Linked DNA regions of Homo sapiens: regions 1, 3, 4, 5 and 6 are each linked to region 2. Evidence: promoter capture Hi-C in 16 types of primary human blood cells and fetal thymus (Javierre and others, 2016). All regions are on one chromosome and are shown on one strand. The core of a region is centred on a gene start or on the middle of the fragment in contact, and the rest is flanking DNA. Distances in the headings are between cores, read along the strand shown. Region 1 overlaps RAPH1 (Ras association (RalGDS/AF-6) and pleckstrin homology domains 1). Region 2 holds the start of CD28 (CD28 molecule). Region 3 overlaps RAPH1 (Ras association (RalGDS/AF-6) and pleckstrin homology domains 1). Region 4 has its middle 9.3 kb from the start of CTLA4. Region 5 overlaps RAPH1 (Ras association (RalGDS/AF-6) and pleckstrin homology domains 1). Region 6 overlaps RAPH1 (Ras association (RalGDS/AF-6) and pleckstrin homology domains 1).

The links. Contacts are between HindIII fragments. The CHiCAGO score rates a contact against its expected background, and 5 or more counts as called.
Region 1: a fragment that was not itself captured here is called in contact with the fragment with the promoter of CD28 in region 2 in 5 of 17 cell types (activated CD4 T cells, total CD8 T cells, total CD4 T cells and 2 more); the score reaches 8.4 in activated CD4 T cells.
Region 3: a contact is called between a fragment that was not itself captured here and the fragment with the promoter of CD28 in region 2, in 1 of 17 cell types (activated CD4 T cells). The highest score is 5.7, in activated CD4 T cells.
Region 4: a fragment that was not itself captured here is called in contact with the fragment with the promoter of CD28 in region 2 in 1 of 17 cell types (activated CD4 T cells); the score reaches 5.2 in activated CD4 T cells.
Region 5: a fragment that was not itself captured here is called in contact with the fragment with the promoter of CD28 in region 2 in 6 of 17 cell types (total CD8 T cells, total CD4 T cells, activated CD4 T cells and 3 more); the score reaches 11.6 in total CD8 T cells.
Region 6: a fragment that was not itself captured here is called in contact with the fragment with the promoter of CD28 in region 2 in 1 of 17 cell types (total CD8 T cells); the score reaches 5.3 in total CD8 T cells.

Annotation. Positions count from the first base shown.
Region 1 is chr2:203,510,022-203,514,696 of GRCh38, forward strand. All of the region lies in intron 1 of RAPH1 (Ras association (RalGDS/AF-6) and pleckstrin homology domains 1), which reads right to left. Among named protein-coding and RNA genes, the nearest start is that of RAPH1, 23 kb to the right of the region's middle. The HindIII fragment of the contact is 4,375 bases long and covers 79-4,453 here.
Region 2 is chr2:203,704,496-203,708,701 of GRCh38, forward strand. CD28 (CD28 molecule) reads left to right here and starts at 2,144. Exons shown (of 4, transcript NM_006139.4): 1 at 2,144-2,253. The coding sequence starts at 2,202. RefSeq lists an enhancer at 2,024-2,173. The HindIII fragment of the contact is 2,136 bases long and covers 655-2,790 here.
Region 3 is chr2:203,451,861-203,456,044 of GRCh38, forward strand. It overlaps RAPH1 (Ras association (RalGDS/AF-6) and pleckstrin homology domains 1), which reads right to left. Exons shown (of 14, transcript NM_213589.3): 9 at 3,577-3,720; 10 at 2,570-2,680. Among named protein-coding and RNA genes, the nearest start is that of RAPH1, 81 kb to the right of the region's middle. The HindIII fragment of the contact is 306 bases long and covers 2,039-2,344 here.
Region 4 is chr2:203,856,413-203,860,492 of GRCh38, forward strand. No RefSeq gene overlaps it. Among named protein-coding and RNA genes, the nearest start is that of CTLA4, 9.3 kb to the right of the region's middle. The HindIII fragment of the contact is 2,463 bases long and covers 1,353-3,815 here.
Region 5 is chr2:203,489,099-203,493,494 of GRCh38, forward strand. It overlaps RAPH1 (Ras association (RalGDS/AF-6) and pleckstrin homology domains 1), which reads right to left. Exons shown (of 14, transcript NM_213589.3): 3 at 2,116-2,221; 4 at 486-991. Among named protein-coding and RNA genes, the nearest start is that of RAPH1, 44 kb to the right of the region's middle. The HindIII fragment of the contact is 1,138 bases long and covers 2,487-3,624 here.
Region 6 is chr2:203,471,913-203,475,952 of GRCh38, forward strand. The region is part of intron 4 of RAPH1 (Ras association (RalGDS/AF-6) and pleckstrin homology domains 1); the gene reads right to left. Among named protein-coding and RNA genes, the nearest start is that of RAPH1, 61 kb to the right of the region's middle. The HindIII fragment of the contact is 6,781 bases long and covers 1-4,040 here.

The sequences.
Region 1 (4,675 bases), core at 1,016-3,515, 190 kb before region 2:
TCTTTTACTTATAAATTATACAGTCTCAGGTATTTCTTTATAGTAATATGAGAATGGCCTAATACATACAACCAAAAAAGCTTCAAGATGTCTGCTTTCTGTTTCTATCTCATAAATGTAAAATTCCTAGGAAAGACATTTTACCACTCATTACTGATAAAAGATACATTTAATACTGTCGGCGCCTGCCTGTAATCCCAGCTGCTCAGGAGGCTAACGTAGGAAAATTGCTTGAACCTGGGAGGCAGAGGTTGCAGTGAGCTGAGATCATGCCACTGCACTGCAGCCTGGGTGATAGAGCAAAACTCCATCTCAAAAAAAAAAAAAAAAAAAAAAAAAGTCCTCTTGAGGTTCTTGAGGGTAATAGGAAGTAATCCCTTACCAAAGGCTGTAGTAGAGGTAGGGACCATTCATAAAGAAGCCAGAGGATTAAGAGAATAGAAATGGGAAAAAGGATGCTCTGCAGGAGAGCAGAGAGTATTCTCCAGGGTGGCATCCCCCAGGCAATTAAGACATTTTCTTCCAGGGTCACTGAAACTACAAAAACAAACTCTCAAACCTGGGATGCAAACTCAAATACCTGCAGGGGTCAGGCAGCCAATATACATACTGGTGGTGGTAGTTAGATATAAACCAATAGGGAGTGGTGAGGTCTGGGAACTGTGACAGCACACCTCAGCTAAAAACACTAGAATTTTTTAAGTTTATTCTGGAATTAAGATAGTGGTGAAGGTTGCATGACCTTGTGAATGTAATAAAACTCACTGAGTGTACACTTTAAAAGAGTAAATGTTTGGGAGGGTGAGGCAGGAGGATTGCTTGAGCCCAGGAGTTCGAAACCAGACTGGGCAACATAGCGAGACTCTGTCTGTATTAAAAAATAAATTTAAAAAAAGAGTAAATATTATGTATATCTCAATTTAAAAAAAACTAAAAGTTTAAGTGTGTGCTAGTTAAACAAGAGAGGAGTTAGATGCCACTTCCTCTGAGAAGCCCATGAACTCTGTACCTCTATGGCATTTATAGCTAATCAGCTTTGTATTATGTGGTGGTTACTGGTGCACTTGCCTTATCACCCTCCACACCCAACTAGATTGCAAGCTCTGGAAAGAGAGAAACCATATGGTTCTCATTTTTCACCCCAGAGCAACTACCACAGAAATATATTCTTTCTTGATGCAAATTTCGACTTTTTTCTGCCAAGTATTTCTAATTTAAGATGACTCAAAGCTAAAGGTACATTTCTTTAAAAAAAAAAAAAAGTGGCCAATTTATCTGGTTCTAGTTTAAAGAAATATTAATCAAAAGAAACCAACACATTCCAAAATTAATTTCCCTATCAATAGAAGAATGGTTAGGAAAAATCAGAAAATTCTGCAATGCACTTTAGCTTCAGAAGAGTATTTTAATAGTATTTCTATAAGGTTATTTCAAGGCATATGATTTGATTCAATAGCTGCGTTAATGACTCTCTGGTAAAAATTAACAAATGACTATTAGTAAGGGTTCTTGCACCTGACAGAAACCCAACTCAAACTAGTTTTAACAAAGAATCTATTCAAAGTATAATTATCGGTACATTTGTCACAATGTTTGTCCTCTCAATTTCTTTAATCTCCCTTCCTCTTCCCTTCCAGGGTTTCATTCCAAAATTCTCTACCTTCTTTACATTTCCATTTCCCATGTCTTTGCTGTCTCCCCATTTTAACCTGTGAGTTCTCTTTCAGTATCCCTTTAAAAAGCTACTCCCAATTCCTATATATGAAAAACCAAAATCCACACAGTCGCTAAAAGAGACTTTAAGAATCGGCCAGGCACGGTGGCTCATGCCTGTAATCCCAGCACTTTGGGAGGCAGAGGTGGGAGGATCACAAGGTCAAGAGATTGAGATCATCCTGGCCAATATGGTAAAACCCTGTCTCTACTGAAAATACAAAAAAAATTAGCTGGGTGTGGTGGTGTTCCCCTATAGTCCCAGCTACTCGGGAGGCTGAGGCAGGAGAATCGCTTGAACTCAGGAGGCAGAGGTTGCAGAGAGCCGAGATCGCACCAATGCACTCCAGCCTGGTGACAGAGTGAGACTCCGTTCCAAAAAAAACAAAAAAGAATTAAGCAGAATATGGGCCAGGGGTGGTGGTGGCTCACACCTATAATCTCAACACTTTGGGAGGCCCAGGCAGGCGGACCACTTGAGGTCAGAAGTTGGAGCCCAGCCTGGCCAACATGACGAAACCCTGTCTCTACTAAAAATACAAAAATTAGCTGGGTGTGGTGGTGCACACCAAGATTGTGCCACTGCACTCCAGCCTGGGTGACAGAGTGAGACTCTGTCTCAAAAAAAAAAAAAAAACCCAAAAAACAAAAAACAAACAAATTCTCCCTCCATGTTTGTATGCCTCAACATTTTATTCCACCAGGAGTAAGAAATCCAACCAGAGATGGATCATTATTCCTGACATTAATGAGACACAAATGGAAGTAAGATAGAATTTAACAGTCAAAAATTGCCTTGGGTGACAAGAATAGTCTAAAAAACTTATTGAAATTTTTGGAATGAGTTTGTTGGGTATTTAAACAACATATGCTAAACATCCCTTACCTTTTTTTTTTTTTTTTTTTGAGACAGAGTCTTGCTCTGTCATCCAGGCTGGAGTACAGTGGTGCCATCTTAGCTCACTGCCACCTCCGCCTCCCAGGTTCAAGCGATTCTCCTTGCCTCAGCCTCCCAAGTAGCTGGGATTACAGGCACATGCCACCATGCCTGGCTAATTTTTTGTTATTTTTTAGTAGAGACAGGGTTCACTGTGTTAGCCAGGATGGTCTGGATCTCCTGACCTGGTGATCCGCCCACCTTGGTCTCCCAAAGTGCTGGGATTACAGGCATGAGCCACCGCGCCCGGCCATCCCTTAACATTTTAACACAAATTCTGGTCCATAAGAAATCTCAAATAGGTAAATCTTTCATGTTTATGTCCTAAGTGTGAATGAGTAAAAACAGACTTTCATTATCTTACACAATTGAAAACGTTAGTTTAATAAACAGTTTGCCAGATCTCCCTAGTTATCTAGGACTAAACAAGGAATCAGGAGACTTGAAATTCTTGTCTTAATTCTGCCACTAACTAGCTAGAACTTTGAGTTAAATCATTTAAATCCTTAGCCCTCACTTTCTTAATCTGCAGAAAAATGGGGGGGGGAATAGATGAACTAGTTGATACCAAAGATTTCCTCCACTCCTCCAACCCCATTCTATTTTTGTCTGAATTTCTACTATTTAATTACTGACTTCACTCTCAATTTCTTCCTATTTATCAGTCTTTTCTCTCAATCTTTTTTTTTTTTTTTTTTTTTGAGATAGAGTCTCGCTCTGTCGGCCAGGCTGAAGTGCAGTGGTGTGATCTCGGCAGACTGCAAGCTCCACCTCCCAGGTTCATGCCATTCTCCTGCCTCAGCCTCCCAGGTAGCTGGGACTACAATCCACCACATTATGCCCCGCCCGAGACTCTATTTCAAAAAAAAAAAAAAAAAAAAAGGCCAGGCGCGGTGGCTCACACCTATAATGCCAGCACTTTGGGAGACTGAGGTGGGCAGATCACTTGAGGTCAGGAGTTCGAGACCAGCTGGCCAACATGGTGAAACCCCGTCTCTACTAAAAATACAAAAATTAGCCAGGTGTGGTGGCAGGCGCCTATAATACCAGCTACTCGGGAGGCTGAGGCAGGAGAATTGCTTAAGCCTGGGAGGTAGAGGTTGCAGTGAGCCGAGATCACGCCACTGCACTACAGCCCAGGAGACAGAGCAAGACTCAGTCTCAAGAAAAAAAAAAAAAAATCAAAAAAATTATACAGAGACTCTCTCTGTCGCCCAGGCTGGAGTGCAGTGGTGTGATCTCAGCTCACTGCAGCCTCCACCTCCCGGGTTCAAGTGATTCTCCTGCCTGAGCCTCCAGAGTGGCTGGGATTACAGGCACACCACCACACCCAGCTAATTTTTGTATTTTTAATAGAGACAGGGTTTCATCATGTTGGGCAGGCTGGTCTCAAACTCCTGGCCTCAAGTGATCACCTGCCTCAGCCTCCCAAAGTGCTGGGATTGCAGGCATGAGCCACCACACCTGGCCCTCTCTCCAATCTTAATTCCGGAGTAAGGTATCTGCTGCCAGCTACTCTTTACTCTATTACTTAAGGGGAGGGAGCAGTTTAGGGAGCCAGCTTTCCCACCTTCACAGTCCAAAGACAGCCACAGCTATCTGCTCTGCCCTAGTTCAAATGAAGTCTCAGGAGTTTAGAAATTGTCTGAGGTGCTTTGACTTCTAATTTAATACTTTTAGGGTTTTTTTGTTTTTGTTTTTGTTTTTACTCTCTGTGTATTCATTTGTTTAAATAGTTAATATGGTCATGGTTATGAGAGAATAAAATTCAACTTAGTGTACAACAAAATATGGATTCCAGGAAGCTTAGAGGGTGGCTACCAGTGAGACAATGAGCAGTATCCCCCCAGGGTGGGCAGCATGTCGCACATCTAAAATTTGTGGGGTTTTTTTGTTTTTTTAAGACGGAGTCTCGCTGTGTCGCCCAGGCTGGAGTGCAGTGGCGTGATCTCGGCTCACTGCAAGCTCTGCCTCCCGGGTTCATGCCATTCTCCTGCCTCAGCCTCCCGAGTAGCTGGAATTACA
Region 2 (4,206 bases), core at 894-3,393:
AGAAGTGTGAGTGAATCATTTCCAAGGACAAATTTCTCCAAAGGACCAAAAGATGTGTTAGTAAGAGGGGTTCACAAAGACTGTGTTTGTGGGAAAATTGAAGTGTGAACAAAGAAGGTCTACCAGGACAGGAAATACTTTTGATCTGTCATTTATCAGATCAGGAGGGAGGGACATGAAGCCTGCCTCCTCTTACAGCTAGGTCATCAAAGAGTTTGACTGTAGCATTTTAAAATAGCGAAGAAAAAAAGGTAACAACACTAGGGGTTTGTTAAACAATTTATGATATAATTAGAGAATGGAATATTATGCATCAATTACAAATAATGTTTATAAAGATACTTAAATGACATGGGAAAATGTTCAAGATATAACAAATAATAGTACATATCTGATGAAAACTATAAGTAAAACATGATATTAAACATGTAAAAATCTTAACAGACCAACAGGTGGAAGGCAGTGGACCAGAATATTAGCAGTGTTTATATTAGGGTGGTAAGAATGTGGATGAATCTTGTTTTAATGCTTATAATTTTTCTAAACATTCTCAATGAAATATGCCTTACTTTTATAGTCAGAATAAAAAGCAATACAAGTTATCTTTTAAAACAACCCACATACACAAAACCCCCAACTAGAGTAATTGCACAAAGCTTAGATTATCAAAAAGAAGAAAAAAATTACTGGAAAAGTTTTGAAGAAGTCATTGAGTACAAGATACTGACGTAGGTGCCGGAAGAAGAGAGCAGTTGGCCGTGCTGGTGGAATAACCCTCTCTGCAAAGGGCCTGGGAGTTGAAGAAGGGTGCAGTCGGGTGGTGGTTATGAATCTCAGAAATCCTGCCACGGAGCCTCCTTTTGTGCCCTATTACTTAACCTTGAGGGACATAGAGAGCATGAGACACCAAGGGGCTTTTGGTTGCCTTACTGTCCCACTAAGAACATAGAATGTTGTTTTGACTTTCCCTTTGCTTAGGGAACCTCCCCCAGATACTCAGCTGGCTGGCTGCTTGCACGTAGAATGGGTTTTGCAAAGTTCCTAGAAGTGAGTTGGAGGAGGCTTGACATAAATCAAGCACTGTGTGCTAAATGCTCCAGAGGGCTACCTTATGTCCTACACAAATGTTACATTTCTAATATTTGTAACTCCTTTAAACGTTTATGCAGATGTTTCCCAATTCCTCAGTAGAATTCTTACCATTATCTTTTTGACACAACCTGTCCCCATCCTATGAAAATCTCTCCTCTGCTAGAGACTTTATTCTTTCTTTCTCTCTCTCCCCCTTCCTTCCTTCCCTCCCTCCCTCTTTCTTTCTTTCCATCTTTCTTTCTTTCTTTCTTTCTTTCTTTCTTTCTTTCTTTCTTTCTTTCTTTCTTTCTCTTTCTTTCTTTCTTTTCTTTCTTTCTTTCTTTCTCTTTCTCTCTCTTTCTTTCTTCCTTTCTTTTTTCTCTCTCCCCTTCCTTCCTTCTTTCCTTCTTTTCTTTTCTTTTCTTTTCTTTTCTTTCTCTCTTTCTTTCTGTCTTTCTTTTCTCATTCTGTTGCCCTGGCTGGAGTGCAGTGGCATGATCTCGGCTCATAGCAGCCTCCACCTCCTGGGTTCAAGCGATTCTCCTGCCTTAGCCTCCCTAGTAGCTGGGATTACAGGTACCCACCATGATGCCTGGCTAATTTTTTGTATTTTCAATGGAGACGGGGTTTCACCATGTTGGCCAGGCTCGTCTTGACCTCCTGGCCTCAAATGATCCACCCACTTTGGCCTCCCAAATTGCTGGCATTACAGGCGTGAGCCACTGCACCCGGCCTGTTCCTTCTTAAGAACACTTTGTCTCCCCTTTAATCTCTGCTGGATTTCAAGCACCCCTTTTACACAACTCTTGATATCCATCAATAAAGAATAATTCCCATAAGCCCATCATGTAGTGACCGACTATTTTTCAGTGACAAAAAAAAAGTCTTTAAAAATAGAAGTAAAAGTCTAAAGTCATCAAAACAACGTTATATCCTGTGTGAAATGCTGCAGTCAGGATGCCTTGTGGTTTGAGTGCCTTGATCATGTGCCCTAAGGGGATGGTGGCGGTGGTGGTGGCCGTGGATGACGGAGACTCTCAGGCCTTGGCAGGTGCGTCTTTCAGTTCCCCTCACACTTCGGGTTCCTCGGGGAGGAGGGGCTGGAACCCTAGCCCATCGTCAGGACAAAGATGCTCAGGCTGCTCTTGGCTCTCAACTTATTCCCTTCAATTCAAGTAACAGGTAAACAATGTTAATGTCTTTCTTTCTGTAAATATTTTTTGAGGTCTTCCAATTGGCTTAGTTTATTTTAAATTTCTAACAATGTGTGAAATTTGAACATTTGAAGTGTAGTTTTGCTGTAATAGGGCAATGTGTTATTTTGAAAATCATTGATTCTCAGACTACAATATAGTATCTTAACAAAAGTCCCTTGGAAATAAATTTTCTAAGCTATTAGTTTCTCTAGCTATTAGTTGATAGTGTCCCAAGAATTTATTATTATTATTATTATTTTAAATTGAGATGGGGTTTCACTATGTTGCCCAGGCTGGTCTCAAACTTCTGAGCTCAAGCAATCCACCTGCCTCTGCCTCCCAAAGTGCTAGGGTTACAGGCATGAGCTACCATGCCCGGCCAATAATTTTTAATTTATGTATCGTTTCTTTCTTTCTTTCTTTTTTTTTTTAATTTAAGAAAGCTGCTGTAAGTAGATTGGCTCTGGAAGCTCTGAATTTAGGTTGCCTATGTTCCTAACACAGGTCCAATTCTCACTAGGTAAGCTTAGGCTTAGCTATTATTTAAACTCTCCAAACCTCAGTTTCCTTAACTGTAAAGTGGGAATAATAATAAACCTCACCTCAAGGTCATTGTGAGGTAAAATGAAATAATCCATGCGAAGGGCTTAGCTCAGTCAGGCTTCAAGATAAATGTGAACTGTAATTACTCTATCTACCTGAATTGAATGAGTTCCAACATGAATTCTGGAGTCACCACAGAAGCTGCTACAACACCAATATTAATAAATTAGTTTTCTTTTACAATCGGCCAAAATGTATTTTCTTAGATTAAAATTCTTTAAGTTCCCAATGACGATGATGAGGAGGATAATACATCTAGCACTTTGAGCAGCACACAGTTCTCGTAACTAGAAGGTAGGTATTACAGTTAACTTCATTTCAGATGAAGAGACTGAGGGGTAGGCACATTAAGGGATTTGCCCAAGGATGTACAGGTGGCAGCTATAGGAGGCAGGGTCTGAACCACCTTAGTCTGACTCCAGTGCCGGTGTTGTTGATTATTATGCTATTCCATCTAACATGGTGTGATTTGTAATTTCATGGACTCAGGTAAATCCAGGGTTAAATTAACTTCGGAAAATCACAAGCACAATTCCTAACAGAAAGAATTTGTTACTTGGGTGGGCTGGAGTAAGATGCTCATTCAACGTGTTCTCAGAGTTAGAAAAAGGCCCCCGCTTGGTTCAAAAACTGGACTGATAGGGGTCAACAGTCATGCTTAAATAAGGACAGTTATTTTTCCCTGAAAGATACATTGAAAAGCCAGTATCCTCAATTTTCTTTCTTATTTTGGCAGTACAGAGACTGCATTATTTGTTGTTATTCTTAAACATTAAGTGTACATAGCCCAAAGAGTATAATTTCCCAATCTGCAGAGGTACAGTAGTTGCATATATACCCGTTTATTTTATGGTCTGACGTACCAGTGAGCACAAATTGTGTATATTTATAAAACGTGTTGATATAATGAAAGACATGAGTTGGCAATGAGATCTGGTACCAAGCGTTTACAGCTACCAAATATATTCTACAAGAATCTTTAACATTTATTTTAAAAAGGTCAAACCTTATTTTTAAGAGATCTCTCAAACTTAAAGAATATTTAAAATTACTTAATTTGTTAGACAGTCAAGGGAAGCCTACCCTGACTGAAAACTATTTAAAATTGGTAATTGTACACTAAATACTTTTCTGATGTGCTTTGTGGACACCTATCTGTCATCAACTTATTCACTCTCTTTTGAAGAGTTTTTGGTAAGACTCAAAACTTTGTATGTTTTCTTTAGAACATTTATTAAAAGGGGACTAGCTAGATAAGTGGTTGGAGAGTTCACACACATAGGGCCTTTGTTTTCTACTTTGACATATATTTACTTTTCAAATGCCAATTCACTTT
Region 3 (4,184 bases), core at 942-3,441, 250 kb before region 2:
CAGCAGAAAATGTACTCTGGGCCAGTAACTCTCAAAAGGAGGGTGGTTGAGTAACTTCTGTGAAATAGTTCCTTCCTCTTATAAAAGACAAATACAGGGAGCAATAATCCCTCTTCTGCTGGCTGGATTTTTCTGGGTCTACATGTGATGCATAGAACTGCAGCAGCCATCTTGGGACTGTGAGGTGAATCAGCCTGAGAATAAGCTGATATGCGGGAAGTAGAACAAGGAAAGATGGAAAGAATTTGAGTTCTCACTGACAACCTTGAGCCACTGAAATAACCAACCAACTTTTACTGTTTTCATGTTATGAGAGTCCCCCAATAACTTTCTTTTACGTGGATTATGTCTACTGATATTGAAGGAGTTAAAAATGTACCACCCTGGCATATTGACTAAGTTAAAAGACACTTGAAAAACAGCAGGTACAGAAGATCACTCTGACCTTCATGCTATTTCTTAAAAGCCTTAGAAGATGAAATTACCATGCAAAAGATGCTTTCTCAATACTAGAAAGCGAAAATATCTTTCTCCTCAGGGATGAGAAGTTGAAACCAACAGAATTCTGTACAGACCTTGTTAAAATAACTCGTATCTTTAAGGCTTCACATATAATTTAGTTGCTTCTTCACAAATTATTCTTTGTCCAATCCAGTATACAAGTAATTATGCTTTTCTCCTGTTGATCTCTTATGTCAATTTAATTTGTGTGCCCAGCTAGGACCCTAAGAGTATGAAGTGAAGTTTTTCCACCCCAGCAATACTTACATTATAAATTAAAACTAAGAAAAAAATTAAACTACAAGAATACACAGGCCAGGCCAGGCACAGTAGCTCACGCCTATAATCCCAGCACTTCAGCAGACTGAGGCAGGCGGATCACTTGAGGCCAGTCTGACCAACATGGCAAAACCTCATCTGTCCTAAAAATACAAAAATTAACTGGGTGTGGTGGCATGTGGCTGTAGTCCCAGCTACTCGGGAAGCTAAGGCATGAGAACTACTTGAACCCGGGAGGCAGAGGTTGCAGTGAGCCGAGATCACATCAGCCAGGGAGACAGAGTGAGACTGTCTCAAAAATAAATAAATAAATAAATAGACAAACACACATTACACTAGCGTGAAGATACCATCACATGTCATATAACCTCTTAGAAAACTCCACTATACATATGTGAGAGAATGAAAGTTCAAGAGGCAAATAACATCTTAGCATTATTAAATAATTTTGACATCATGGTCTTAGGGACTGACTCTCAGGAGACTGTGGACCTCATTTTGAAAACTGCTGAATTAAGCTACTTTGTACTGACTTTTAAAAAACTATTTGCACCTAAAGGTACCTAAAATGATACAGTGGTGTTCCCCAAAAACACAATTATGTAATAAAAGGTTACCATTATGGCCAGGAGCAGTGGCTCTGCCTGTAATCCTAGCACTCTGGGAAGCCTAGGCAGGCAGATTGCTTGAGGCCAGGAATCTGTGACTAGCCTAGGCAATATGGCTAAACCCTGTCTCTACAAAAAAACACAAAAATTAGCTGGGTGTGGTGGCATGCACCTCAAGTCCCAGCTACTTGGGAGACTGAGCTGGGAATATCGCTGGAGCCTGAGAAGTCGAGGCTACAGTGAGCTGTGATTGTGCCACTGCACTCCAGCCTGGGTGACAGAGCAAGACCCTGCCTCAAAAAAAAAAAAAAAAAAAAAAAAAAAAAAGGTTGCTACTACAATGTACTGACTTTATCAAAGCAATCAAAACTCCAAAATCCTAAAATCCTAAAACTCCCAAACTAATGGCAGTCCCCAAACTAAAGTGACAATTCTCAGAGAAAAGTGAAATTAAACATGATATGAACATGTAGACCTAAGTAGTTACCAAGAAATTACAAAGATGGAGCCAATGAAAAAAAAATTATCTCCCTAATTTTCTTGAATTTTTGTATGTCGTTTTTATCAGTGTTCTAATAGATCACTATAAATTTGCTTAAAATGTCCGTTCTTCTCAGAAGTACAGATATAATCATTGCAAGAAGTACAAAAGCTTGAATAAAGAAGAAAAAAAAACCTCCCTAAAAACAGCTCAGGTCACAATACATACATGGGCTATCATGACTATAGTTCAGGGAAAAAAAGAGACAAAAATTATTTCTGGACCAGATAACAGCCAGTCTGATTTGAACTTGGACACAGTGCCCTCTGATGGTTTGCTGAGTAAGTACAGGAAAAGAACTAAAGCACATTTATGACCTACATTCGGCTCTGTTCTAAGTTTTCCTAAAATAAGCCTGGTGTTAAATGAGAATCTCAAATTTATAATCAAATACATTTTATATCTCACAACTCAAAGCTTACAATCTAATATTCACTCCTTACCTAGAGATAATTGGCCCAGGGTCTGCTATGATATAGCACATGCTTCTTTTCCTTACCACACTTCACCATTCCTTTTTAAACTTTGAGAATAAAGCAAAAACAGTATAATTGATGGAATCTCAACAGTTCTAAAATATCCAATAACCTGCTCTATGTCTAACATCAATTAAAATTCCTAAAAAGAAATATGTGTTTACCTTCAGCACCAGACAATAGTCTGTAGGTGCTTTGTATTTGTTCCGATAGTCCTGGCCATAATAAACGTTGACATGATCCAGCTGGAGAAAGCACACCAGATCCCGAGAGACCTAAGATAAAAACACCAAAAAGATAAAATTAATAATAATGCACAAACAAGCAAATATACCTGGTTAACATTTTCTAGGTGAGAATCAAAACTACTTTTGCTAATACTAAATAGAAATTATTGCTATTTACACGAGACAATGAGATGCTCCATAAATGTTTCTTCTTTAATCATTAACGTAACAAAAAAGCAGCCCATTTTACTTACTGTTTTGTCATTCACAATGAACACTAACTTGTTAAGGAGTGTTGGCATTTTAAAGATACTATTAATATAGTCTAGTACATTAAAAACAATAATGTATAATAGAGCTCTCTGGAAAGAACAAGAAAATATCAAGTCGTTCAGTGCCTATAATGCATATGTAAAGTATAGTGATTCGCAACTGGTTGGGGGGAGGTTTTCACCAGTTAAATAGGGGCAACAATATATGCTCATAGGACTATTGTGAAGACTAGATGAGATAATACTGTAAAAAAGTTTAAAACAGTCCTGGTGCCAATAAGCACCGAAGTGATAGCTACACCAGGGTGGCCCTTAGCAGAAGAAGCATATTACCCAAACAAGATAAAAAAGCCTGTAATCCCAGAGAGCTGTGCTGTTCTTCCCAAACAAAAATAAACAAAACTACTCCAGAAAGAGTCCCCAAAAAACAACAAATAAAACTATGATTTCAAATTTGGTAAAGAGAACTGAGATAGGCTCAACTAGTGACCAGAGAAGTAAGAACTTTCAGGTTTCTTCTTCTTTATAATAGATTAATAAACAAAGCAATATTCTATGTCTTCCACGAACTGAAACAAATCATAGCCTGGGTTCACCTTGTCAGCATACTCAATACAAATTAAAAGCAATTAGCATAATGAGGAAGTTCAAATTCCAACAGAAGGGACACACCTTTGCTTTTCCTTTGGGAACATAGTAGATACCAGATGCTCGCAAGAGAAAATAACGCTTTTTCCAGGACTTCTTGCCATCATCCTTCAACCAAAGGACTCCTTCAATTTCTGGTACAGTTACAGAACTTCCACAAAAACATTCCTAAAATAACAAGATTATTTGCAAAGACTTATGATCGTTGGATTCTCAGAACAAAGTTGTGTTTACTCCTGTGAAATGCATGACAGTTATTAAACCAAAATGGTTTTATATTAAAACCAAGCTGCTAATTTAACCTCAATTAGAACTTTCCAGCCAGGTGTAGTGGCTCATGCCTGTAATCCCAGCACTTTGGGAAGCGGGTGGATCACTTGAGGTCAGGAGTTCAAGACCAGCCTGGCCAACATAGTGAAACCACGTCTCTACTTAAAAAAAAAAAAAAAAGCCAGGCATGGTGGCGCGAGCCTGTAGTCCCAGTTATGTGGGCAGCTGAGGCACAAAAATTGCTTGAACCTGGGAGGCGGAGATTGCAGTGAGCTGAGATCACACCACTGCACTCCAGCCTGGGCAACAGAGCGAGACTCTGTCTCAAAACAAAAACAAAAACAAAAACAAAAACAAAAACA
Region 4 (4,080 bases), core at 1,334-3,833, 150 kb after region 2:
TCCTAATAGTGCCTTCTTATCTCTCAGGTGAGAAAAACTCTGATGCAATTATATAACTGAAATAATTCACATTTAGGCAGCATCAGAGCCAGGCCTATAACTAAAACCTCCTAAATCTTGGGTAACTACTTTATGCATTTTACAGGTGTCCTTTCTTACTTTTCATATGCTATGACTAAATCCAGTGTGATTAATTGGAATTAGAGAGCATGAGAAATTCTTATCTTCCTCTTATGTCCTTTAGCTTGGCTAAATGTTTGCTGGAAAACAGTGGGTAGGATCGATTAACACAGAATTTATTGAAAATATTTTAAAGAAATAATTTGTACATTTTGTGATGAGTTTTCAAACTTTAAAGCTTCAAATTGAGGTCTCTCTGCAGGAACGACACGATTTGAGGCATTGAATCTTGGTAACATCTCAAACTGCTATAAATTTCTAAAAAGTTGTTATCTGACTCAGTGTCAACAGAAACATGATTAAATCTAAGTAAGAATTTCCTTTTAGGTTTGCGACTTCAAAAAACCATTTATGCTGAAGAAATTTGAGTTAAAGGCTCTAAAATAGATTCAATGAATCTTATCAATCAATCAATTTTATTTGCTAAATTTAGTACTAGAGTGACATTATCTGTACATTCTTTGTATAAAAACATCTAGCAGAGCACTTTTTTGGGGTTTTGTGATATCAAGAGGTTTTGGGAATTTTAGGAAAGTTCCACCCACAATAAAAACCAATGTTCTCTTATTGCTGATTAATTCTGTCAGATGGGTCAGAATCGATGCTTCTTTGAATACATGCAAATTATCCTTCATTTAAAGTTTCTGTTTTGTCTTTCTTCCTTTGTTTCATTTGTTTGTCATTTCTCTTATTCTTCTCATTTTCTTCTTTACTCTCATTCTCTTAAAATAAAAATCTTAAGGATTTCACTTATTTTTTTCAGTTTTTCTTTGCTACAGGAGATAGTGAAATCAGTGAGTAAAATCAGGTTATACAAATGGCATTCACTTACATAGACATTTTATGATGTTAAACTAAAAAAAAAAGCCTGGTTATTTGGAGGGAGATTCAGATAATTTGGAAGTGATTTATTTTCTCAAACGGAAATAGTGATTACAAATGATGAGAAAAAGAATTGCATTTATTTGGCAACATGATCATAAACTTGCTTACTGAATTTATCCTATAAATCAGGATAATAAATTCCAGTGGCAAACATTTAATTTTTAAACATCATAACTTCCTTTAGCTTTTTTTTGTGAGCTTAAAATTCCAAATAAACTTACTTGTTCTCATGCTCACAATTGTCTATTTTATCCAAAGGATGAAATGCAGGAGATGCATTTGATGGAAGCTTCTTGACCTGCTTATATTTTAAGAGCACAGGAAACACATGTTTCTGGTGTTTTCTACTTGTCAGCATTTCTTAACCGATGGAACAGAAATGTCCAGAACTACAAAGTTCAAACTTTGCATGTGGCAAGAACTTTATGTGATCAGACTGAATCTAAATAATGTTGAGAAATAACAAAAATATAAGCAATGGATTTCTAAGCAGACAATGTCATTGCCATGACATGGTCCTATTAGGTGCATACAGAAACTGAGCTCTATGCGTGTGCCAGACAAAAACCAAAGAGCTTCGGTTTTAATTACAGTGCATTACTCTTATTACCCTCAACAGGTTCTGACGTGACCATGTAAATACAATTATTTAGTTTCTTCCTTATGGCTGAAGTGTTGGGCCAGAGATTTTCCTCTTAGAACATAATCTGTGAAATGGGTCTACTAAGGAAAGCTACTTAATGTAACCAGCTCCTTCTAAATCATATTCTCCTAAAGCACACCGGAATAATACAGTTCATTGGGCCAAAGTTTTCTAACATGGCTTCCCTCCATCTCATTTAGTTAGTCCACAGCTGAGTAACCTGTTAGAAAATTGTGCCCAGCAGAGGGCAGAGCCAGTGATCCATATCTCAGATTCTGGCTGGTGATGGTTCAGTGTGATGTGGGATCAGAATTGCAGATTATGAGAAATAACCAGAATCTTTCTTCCTTGCCTCAGCCCATGGAGGATGTGTCCACCAGTTCATTCTTTTGACACTTGGAAAGAAGTGGAACGTGGATTCAGATTTGGCCAGATTACATTCAGAGGAGAGTAAAACATGGCCAATAATACTGTAAGACCAATGGTGTGCTTTCTGAGACGGTGAATGCCTATAGAATCTGTCAATATGACCGTATTTTTGCGTGTGTGTTGTAAAGTGCATATAACATAAAATCGACGATTTTAACCGTTTCAAAGTGTACAATTCAGTGGCATTTCGTATATTCACAGCATCATGTGACAGTTACCACTATGCTGCTCCAGAGCGTTTTCATTACCCGAAAAGGAAATCTCATACCGCCAAGCAGTCATTCCCCATTTTCCCCTCTCACATTCCCTAGCAATCAATAATCTGCTTTCTGGCTCTACAGACTTGCTTATTCTAGATATTTCATATAAGTGGAATCGTACAATACGTGTCCTTTTGTGTCTGGCTTATTTCACTCAGCATAATGTTTTCAAAGTTTACCCATGTTGTAGCATGCACCTTCATTCCTTTTTATGGCTGAATAATATTCCGTGGTGTAGATAGAGTACATTTTGCTTATCCATTCATCAGTTGATGGACACTTGGGATGTTTCCACTTTGGCTGTTGTGATTAATGCTGCTATGAGACCATATGTATATGTTTTTTTACTTAAATGATTTGCTGATTTGTGTTTGTGGGTACCCAAGACCTAGCAGGAAGTTTGGTGGGGCTGGGTTTGAAGTTGCAAACTGGGCAGAAAACTAGAGCCAGAAGCCATGCCAGTTCAAGAGGTTCTGGGGAAGATGGTGAATGATGGTAAAGGCAGTGAGAAGAAAATCACATTAGAGTCAAGGGCCCTTGGACTCTCATCTTGGTTCTGCCACCAGCAGACTGTGTGGGTGATTTGGGTAAATCATTTCACCTTCCTGGGCCTTCATATTCTCTCTTTAAAATGAGACAGCAGAACTCACTAACATTTCTTCTAGCTCTAGGAGTCAGTGCCTGCCACAGACTGTGCAAACACCCTGTATTTCTTGTCACCTAACACACCCTTTTCCAGCATCACAGCTGCTATCACTCACACTGTAAACAGTATAGGTACTCTTTTTCTATATTTTCTGTGCTCAAGGTTTGGGCTTAACCATTTCCTCTGAACTGGAAGTATGAAGAGGGTCAGGGCCTGGCATCATTGAAATGTGGCAGTCGCAGCAGGGCCCAAAATAACACAGCTCAAAATATGAAAGCAATGTCTCTGTAACCAAGAAACTGAAATAAATGCTCGAGGCTGAGATTATATCAGCCACAAATATCATGGAAGAAATGGGTTCCATCAAATGTTTGGCACTTCCAATGTTACTCTTTATAGATAGCTAGCAAGTTTTGGGGTGTAGGTGGGTGGTTCATTCAGCATTAAAGATGATTTGTAGTCCATGTCCAAGATTTCCTTCTCCTTGCACTAAGACAAGAAAATATTAGTGATTTGTGAAGTTTCTTCTTTTGTAAAATGGAAATGGTACTGGGTAATCTCAGCTCGTTCTAAATAGAAATCAGGTACACTCCTGAATGTACCATTCAGGTGGGGTACATTGTGGGGAGGGTGTCGTGGGTCAAATATGGGACTATTTACCCTTCCCTTTCTGTTTATTTCTCCTTGACAATGAAAGAATAAGATCTGAATATGAGACCCTGGGCAAGTCAATTGCCTTCTCAATATCAGTTTCCTGATCTGTAAAATAAGAAGCTTACCTATTTTGAAAGCATCTATTTTTGGCTTTTGATAAAGCCACTTACTTAAATTTATTTGTGGCTGGCTGTGTTACAACAGGGCTGAGGGATTAAGAAAAAAGACAAAATCCAACTTTAATTTTACTTTTAGGAGTGAGAAGCTAAGGACATTGACAGACAATCAGAGATGATAATGTCTAAAATTCAAAATATAATAACAGAACATTATCCATAAGTGGAGATAAGATATTCAAAAGATGTAATCATATAAAGAGCTTA
Region 5 (4,396 bases), core at 1,806-4,305, 210 kb before region 2:
CTGGGCATGAGTTGTACAAGAGTACAAACTCCATCTCAAAGAAAAAAAAAGGAGAAAAAAAAAAAGATAATGAAATGGAGTTAACCCTGTAAACTAGAATCTTGGAGGACCACAATGGTGATATGAGTGTTTTTCTTAAGTTTTACTTTAAATCAACATACATTAAATAACTAAATGGTTTTGTGAATCATTTTAATTTTTCAAATCACGTGAAATGACTCATATTACAATAAAAAATGCCATTCAAGAACTTCCAAATACTATAGTCACGAGAATAAAAAAGAAACTAAATTTCTTCTAAATCATCTTTGTGCCACTACCATATCTGATAATATATTCCTTCTGTACTCTTGAAACCTATCTCAGAAGTATCTTTGACAAATTATAAATGTAGAAGAATTTAAGAAGTTAATTAAAATTATTTTAATATAATTTCTCCTTTATTTTAATAACAAAATACCAGGGAAAAAGTTCCATTTATTTACCTCAGTAATTGGCTGCCCTTGATGTGTCAAATCCAGCTCTTGAGGGCGTGTTACTTTATCAATATCCAAAGAGTCCATGCTGGAGGCTGCGGAAGTGATGCTGGAATGGGAGGAATTACTAATAGAGTGTACTTCAGCATCACTCACTGTGCCTGCTGACGCGGTTCTTCTGTGCTGATTAGTTACTAAGGGTTTAGTATCTTCTAGTACAGATTGCTGAGCAGCCTCATCCATACTCAAAGAGGCCTGTTCTAACTGTGCAGTGACGTCGTCCAAGGAGTAGCTGGCATGGGAAGGTTTAGCTATCCTATTAGATGAAGAAGATAATCCTTTCAAGGTGCCATGTTTCAATGTATGTCGGCTAACAGGCAATTTCTGAGTAGCTTTCGTTTCTGTGATTTGACGCTTACTGTTTCCTGAACCAATGCTGCTGAGCTCCTGCTCTATAGAGCAAAGATCAGCCATCAAGGCATCCAGATCCACAGTCTCTCCCTGATTCAGAGCTTCTGCAATGAACAACACATAATGTTTCCAGAATTTATACATTCTATTATAAATCAGTTAATAAATGCAGGTGATGAAGCAAAAGAATATATTTTGTTGGGCCTAAAGCAAATAAAATTAAGTATTTCTGGTTTTTGTTTTAAATTCCAAGATAAATTTTTAGAAGTACACAGTCCTCCTCTTTTAAGGCTTGTAATAATCAGAGGAGAATAAATTATGAGTTCAAAGACAAAAACACTACAAAAATCTTATACTGTTCCATGGTTTTAACCACATTCCTCTGTGCAACTTTTTACCACAGGCTTCAATATATTGTTAATATGATCAATGCTTTGGTAGAGATGTCAATACTGAAAGAGCTGAGGGCATAAAAAGAGAAGTCAAAAGTCTAAAAAATTACAGACTGACAGGTCAATATTATAAACTTGACTAGGTGGAATACAACAGATAAAGGCCACAGTGGCTGCTTTAAAAATTACTAAGAAGTAACTTCACTGGACTTTAATCCGGTGAGAAAACAATGCAATTAAGTTTGCTGTGGGGTTCCACCTGGGTATGTACTTTGTCAATTATTAATAAAACCAACTATCTTTTAGTTATGTTCTAGTTTGCTTTTCTCTGTGATATTTTCAATTAGTAATATTAATAAAATACACAAATCAAGAAATTTAAGGGCTGGACGCAGTGGCTCACGACTGTAATCCCAGCACTTTGGGAGGCTGAGGCAGGTGGATCACCTGAGGTCAGGAGTTCGAGACCAGCCTGGCCAACGTGGTGAAACCCTATCTCTACTTAAAAAATACAAAATTAGCCAAGTGTGGTTGTGCATGCCTGTAATCCCAGCTACTCGGGAGGCTGGGGCAGGAGAATCGCTTGAACCTGGGAGGCAGAGGTTGCAGTGAGCCGAGACTGTGCCACTGAACTCCAGCCTGGGCGACAAAAGCGAAACTCTGTCTCAAAAAAAAAAAAAAAAGAAAAAAGAAAAGAAAAAAGAAATTTAAGAACTTGGTCGAGTTATGCATGTAGCTTTTATATCGAGTTTTTATATTGGGAATTGCAGTTGTACTGCTCCTACATTGTGTGACTTAGCATACTATTTTACATTTTATTTCCAATTACATCTTACCATTCAAGTTGTATATGGAGAAGCGGTAAGAAAAGTTGGCCATGTTTGTTTCCTGGCGAAGAGGAGATCTTTTTACTGGTTCCATGGGCTTGTCAGAATCCAAACTCTTTATAAAAAGAAAGTTTAATAGTCATATTAAATTCAGGTTTCAATAATATAAAAAAAGATGAAGTTTGTTTTATGATTAAGTGAACTGCCACACTATAATTAATTAAACCAAAGTTCTCCTAAGTAATAGACTTAAGGAAAAGTATAATTGTATTTGACATTATTATTTTGGTTATACTTATTTCAATCTTTAGATATATGCTTACTTTTTTTTTTGGAGATGAAGTCTCGTCCTGTCACCCAGGCTTAAGTGCCGTGCCACAAGCTTGGCTCACTGCAACCTCCGCCTCCCGGGTTCAAGGGATCCTCCCGAGTAGTTGGGACCATAGGCATGTGCCACCATGCCCGGCTAATTTTTGTATTTTTAGTAGAGACAGGGTGTCACCATGTTGGCCAGGCTGGTTGCAAACTTCTGGCCTCAAGTGATCTGCCCACCTCCATCTCCCTAAGTGTTGAGATTACAGGCGTGAGCCACCATATCTGGCCTATGCTTACTTTTAAAGGCACTTGAGATTGTCATAGTTCAGAGTAAATATCTTTTCAAATATATTAAGTATAGTGACTGACTTCATTTTATATACATGCACTATAAAATAAGTGAGGTAAGTGAATATGGACATGGTAAGCTAAGAAATAGGTGTGATGGCTCACTTTGTAATCCCAGCACTTTGGCAGGCAGAGGCAGGCGGATCAACTGAGGTCAGAAGTTCGAGACCAACTTGGCCAACGGGGCGAAACCCCATCTCTACTAAAAGTACAAAAATTAGCTGGGCACAGTGGCGGGCGCCTGTAATCCCAGCTACTTGGCAGGCTGAGGCAGGAGAATCGCTTAAGCCTGAGAGGCAGAGGTTGCAGTGAGCCGAGATCACGCCACTGCACTCCAGCCTGGGCGACAGAGCGAGACTCAATCTCAAAAAAAAAAAAAAAAGAAACCGCACAGAGAGTTCTGTTCTTTCTTTCCTCAAAGGGATTTGGTTTAGGTCCAGGAAAGCCTCGATCTTTGCTATATGAAGTACTCTGAAGATAACGGACAGTTCTGGATTTAAAATTATTAAGACCCAAGACTCACTAATTTTAATGGAAAGTGATTACAAGTTCAAACAATGATGAAATATTCTTGTCCTTCTCCAGTTCTATCAAAAGGAGGGCAAATTGCAACCCAGCTACACTGCCTGTGACAAATCTTGAATCATACTGTATACTTTGGGTAGGGTGACTTGTAAGTTACACTTGTAAGTTTAAATGATACTCTTCCTCTCTAACCTTTCTAGAGCAAGGAAAAAAGATATTTACAACAGAGAAATTCAGAGAAAGGGTCAGTAGTTATTGTTTAATAGATTCACAAAATATAAGGATTAGTGTTTTAAAACTTTAATTTATATCTACAGTAAGCACTGAACAAGCTTCAAATTTTAAAAGAATGCTGGATACTCTATGTGTTTATAATGCTATCTTTTTTTTTTTTTTTGAGACAAGGTCATGCTCTGTTGCCCAGACACGAACTCTTAACCTTTTTAAAGGGGTTGCTGAGAATTTTATAAAAGCTATGAACCCTCTTCCAGAAAAATGCACATACATAAAAAACTTTACAAACTATTTTAGAAGATTGACCAACTACCTAAAACTTAAACTTGTTTTAATTCTAAGTTGAAAATACCATACCACTGAGTACGTGATACAGGTGTACAGATAACACTGTAATGAACTAAAGTAATGAAATAAACAAGAAACTTGAGGTTTTAGCCACAAACTTTGTAAAGTCAAACATCTCTTGAAAATGTCCCAAGTGTTACAAAGCAACATATTAGCAGTGAGTCACACTATGCCACAGTTTTAATCTTTTTTTCTCTCTAAAGACAGATTTATATAATGAAAAGAACAGTCACGTCATTAGTGGCTCTTCACACTTTTATGTCAGGCAACTTAAAATACAGGGGAAAGTACAAGGTATCAAACCAGTAGAAACACCATTTTCAGGGCAGCATCATGTAGTTCCTAGTTCACCCAGAGCAGCTGGACCAATATCTACCTGCCTTTTCTCTTTTGGGCCCCTCCTCCCAAGCATGGACAATAAAACCACATGGTCAAGAACACCCCACATGTCAGCTGGCCCTTGCATACTTTTCTCCATGCATTATCATTTTCTATTTGCTCTTCTTTGCTTCCTCTCTCT
Region 6 (4,040 bases), core at 994-3,493, 230 kb before region 2:
AACTATCCCTAGGTCCTCATTTAACTAGATTGTGTAGTCCTCCTAAAGGTAAGACTGATTGGCTCCTCCATAAAGACACTAGGTAAGTAGTAATTTCTGAAAATTCAATTTAGTTTGAGGTTAATGCACAGCCAAGGAGGAGGGAGGGAATTGGGAAAAACAAAGAACAAAAAGCACAATTTGTAAGAGTAGCCATTCTTTGGTTTCTTTAGTTCTTTTTTTTTTTTTTTATTTTTTTGAGACAGAGTCTCCCTCTCTCACCCAGACTGGAGGGCAGTGGCGTGATCTCAGCTCACTGCAACCTCTGCCTCCCAGCTTCAGGCGCTTCTCCTGCCTCAGCCTCCTGAGTAGCTGGGATCACAGGCATGGGCCACCACACTCGGCTAATTTTGTATTTTTATTAGAGACAGAGTTTCGCCATGTTAGCCAGGCTGGTCTTGAACTCCTGACCTAAGGTGATCCGCCCGCCTTGGCCTCCCAAAGTGCTGAGATTATAGGCGTGAGCCACTGTGCCCAGCCACGTTTCTTTACTTCTCTAATAAACTTGCTTTCACTTAAAAATAAAAGAGCAACTATAACTTTCATTGCTCTTATTCCCATTCATTTTTAGCTATTCAAATATAATGGGTAAACATGTACTGCTACACAATTACTATGTAAAACATGTAACATGTATTTCAAGAAATTACTTTCTTGAAAACTTACTGTATTTATCTTATAAAAGTTACTTTTTTAGAAAAATTATCTCCAAGTGAGTAGATTATCTATATTCAGATCATTATATTTCAAATTTAAAAAAATAAAATCTGCCTCAGGCCATCAAAACAAACTATGATTTGGTAAATGTAATTCCAAACATCAAATTCAAATTTAATTCTTAAAAACACAAGATTTAATCAGTTCTCAAACTCATGACCTCAAGACTTCAAGTCATCAAAAAACTGATAATTTGGTTAAGTATGAGGCAATGATATTTAATTGTATCTGATTAATGACACAGAAATAGAAGTCCATTTTGAAATATTAAGATATTCAAATAGCTTAAAATAAAAAGAGGGTAATCATTATGGTTGGTGGTCCCAAAATATGCCACATTCAAAAAATGAGACCACAAACAATAGTTAAACATGATCATAAATTATATCCTGCATGGATGGTTACGTAGCTATTCACTATTTAGTTACTAGCAGAAACAACAAACATGTGGAAACCCGAGGCAGCAAACTCCACTGGGCATGGTGGCTTGAACTGTAATCCCAGCTACTCAGGAGGCTCAGATAGGAGGACCACTTGAGCCCAGGAGCTTAAGGCTGCAGTGAGCTAAGATTATGCCACTGCATTCCAGCCTGGGCAACAGAGCGAGACCCTGTCTCAAAAAATAAAGTATCTTCTTCCAATTGGTACCAGTCATAACACTGATCCTAGAATTCCTTGCTCTTCAGAAAAAAGGGGCAGGGGTGGGGTGAAACTGGTTACTGGAAGGATGCAAGAGGGATGAGAAGAGTGGTGCACAGCTGAAGGACTAAGGAGAGTAAATTATGTAGTTTTAAAACTACATAATTTCTACCAGGGCCGTATTATCAGTGAAACATTTTAAACTGCAGAAATTGTGGTTTTGGTTCAGAAACAAGTTGTATATTTTTCACCCTTGATTACAGGGGAAAAAAATCAGTGCTGTGTCTTTGTGGGTTGCTCTGCTATGGAGATCTTACTGTAACTGAGTAAGGCCATTCTGTTTAGAAATATATTTTAAACGTTTAATTAAAAAAAAATTATGGTTTGGGCATGGCATCCAATCAGGCTTCAGTCTTGGTTTATGTTGTGAGTTAATAAAAATGCATACAGCTTCATATAAACAGGGCCTTCTTATATTTTCTTTTATTTACCAACTATAGACACAAAGTCAAGGGCTTATTTTCAATCCATTTTATTGATTTATTTTATTTCTCTGTTTTCCTCTTCATGTATTCAACCATTTTTTAGGCTCCAACTTTTGAGTGTGGAACCATGCCAGCATTAGAGATGCAAAGGTGACCAAGATGGGCATTCCTTGCCTCACAGAATGTAGTCTAAATAGGGAGATGCAGACCAACTTGCAACTACAAAACAGTGTGTTAAGTGGTAGGTGAGCAAGGAGACGGGTATCTAACCCCAAATTAGCGGCTTAATAAAGTAATTCTGAAAAAGCTACAGTCCTGGAGGATGATTAAGAGGCTGCTGGGGTCGCAGTGTGAGGGAGTGTGGCAGGGTAGAAAGAGGGCAAAGGGATATTTGAGACCAGTGGTTCTCAAAAGAGGGTAGCTCTGTCCTCAAGCAGGAATTTCAGAAAATGTTAAGGACATTCTGGGCTGCCACAATGAAGAGGAGAGGGAGAGTTACTGGTATTTATTGGGAAGTTGAAAATGCAAGATGCCTTGCAAGCATGGTACAATGTCAGTAACAACAAAAGTCCCACATTCCACAATTGTTAAATGTCCTTACACGGAGAGTCGCAGAGATGGGAAATCTTGCTTATAACAATCTGAGCTTAGAATCTAATTTCATTTTACATCTAAAAAGTATTTTTGCATAATTTTAATACTGAATGAATTTTCCAGGATGCTATTACCCTCTAAAATAAATGGAAAGAAGTCTGCACTTTCTTTTGTTCTGAGCTTACAAACAGCTGTTCATAATGTTGGAAAATAATTTCACCAATGGAAAACTAGCTTGAAGTAAGAGTTGCCAGTACCACAACTGGCAGTGTACACTCTGTCACATGCCAGTAAATGATAGGAGATATTTGGAATTCCTTTGAACAGAATTAAAAGCAAAATAATATTAAATTAGTGAAAACATGAAATTAACGTTATTAGTAAAAATTGTTTTAAAATATTTCATACTACTGTTGTCATATTTAAAATACATAGCACAGAAGGCCGGGAGTGATGGCTCATGCCTGTAATCCCACCACTTTGGGAGGCTGAGGCAGGTGGATCACCTGAGGCAAGGAGTTCAAGACCAGCCTGGCCAACATGGCAAAACGCCATCTCTACTAAAAATACAAAAATTAGCCAGGTGTGGTGAAGCACACTTGTAGTCGCAGCTACTTGGGACGCTGAGGCGGGAGAATCGTTTGAACCCAGGAGGCAGAGATTGCAGTGAGCCGAGATGGCACCACTGTACTACAGCTTGAGCAACAGAGCAAGACTGCATCTTAAAGAAATAAAATATGGCCGGGCGCAGTGACTCATGCCTGTAATCCCAGCACCTTGGGAGGCCGAGGCGGGAGGATCACAAGGTCAGGAGATCAATACCATCCTGGCTAACATGGTGAAACCCCGTCTCTATTAAAAATACAAAAAATTAGCTGGGCGAGGTGGCGGGTGCCTGTAGTCTCACCTACTTGGGAGGCTGAGGCAGGAGAATGGCATGAACCTGGGAGGTGGAGCTTGCAGTGAGCCAAGATCGCGCCACTGCACTCCAGCCTGGGTGACAGAGCGAGACTCCGTCTCAAAAAAAAAGAAATAAAATATATAGCATGATGAAAAATCTACACTGTAAAAAAAATCAGATATCAAATGATTTTATTACTACCATCTCATCCCACATTATAACACTGAAATTATTTTGTCATTACAATTATAAATAATCTTATCTCATTTGCAAGAATTTTACATGCTCCCATTTTCTCTACTTGCCTATAAACTGTCTCAGCACATTATCCCTACTTCAATTAAGATTATTTCCCTTTTTCTCATAGTATATACAAGTATGTCATTATCTGCTATCACTTATAACATGTTTCAGTTCTGGGGTCCACTCATATTTCTGTTCTTTTTCCTACACTTCTTGTATAAAAAAAAAAAAAAAAAGGCTTCTGATCTCACTTCTCTTAAACCCAAAGTTCTTGATTATAGGTAGGTGTAAGGTTTGACTACTTCATTATGTCTTTTAATAGTGGCAGCTAAGCATTTACATACTAAAACAGATATATTATTTATTATAAATTTCTTTTTCATTATTTCTCCTTCATAGGTGTTGGGGCATTACATTCATAT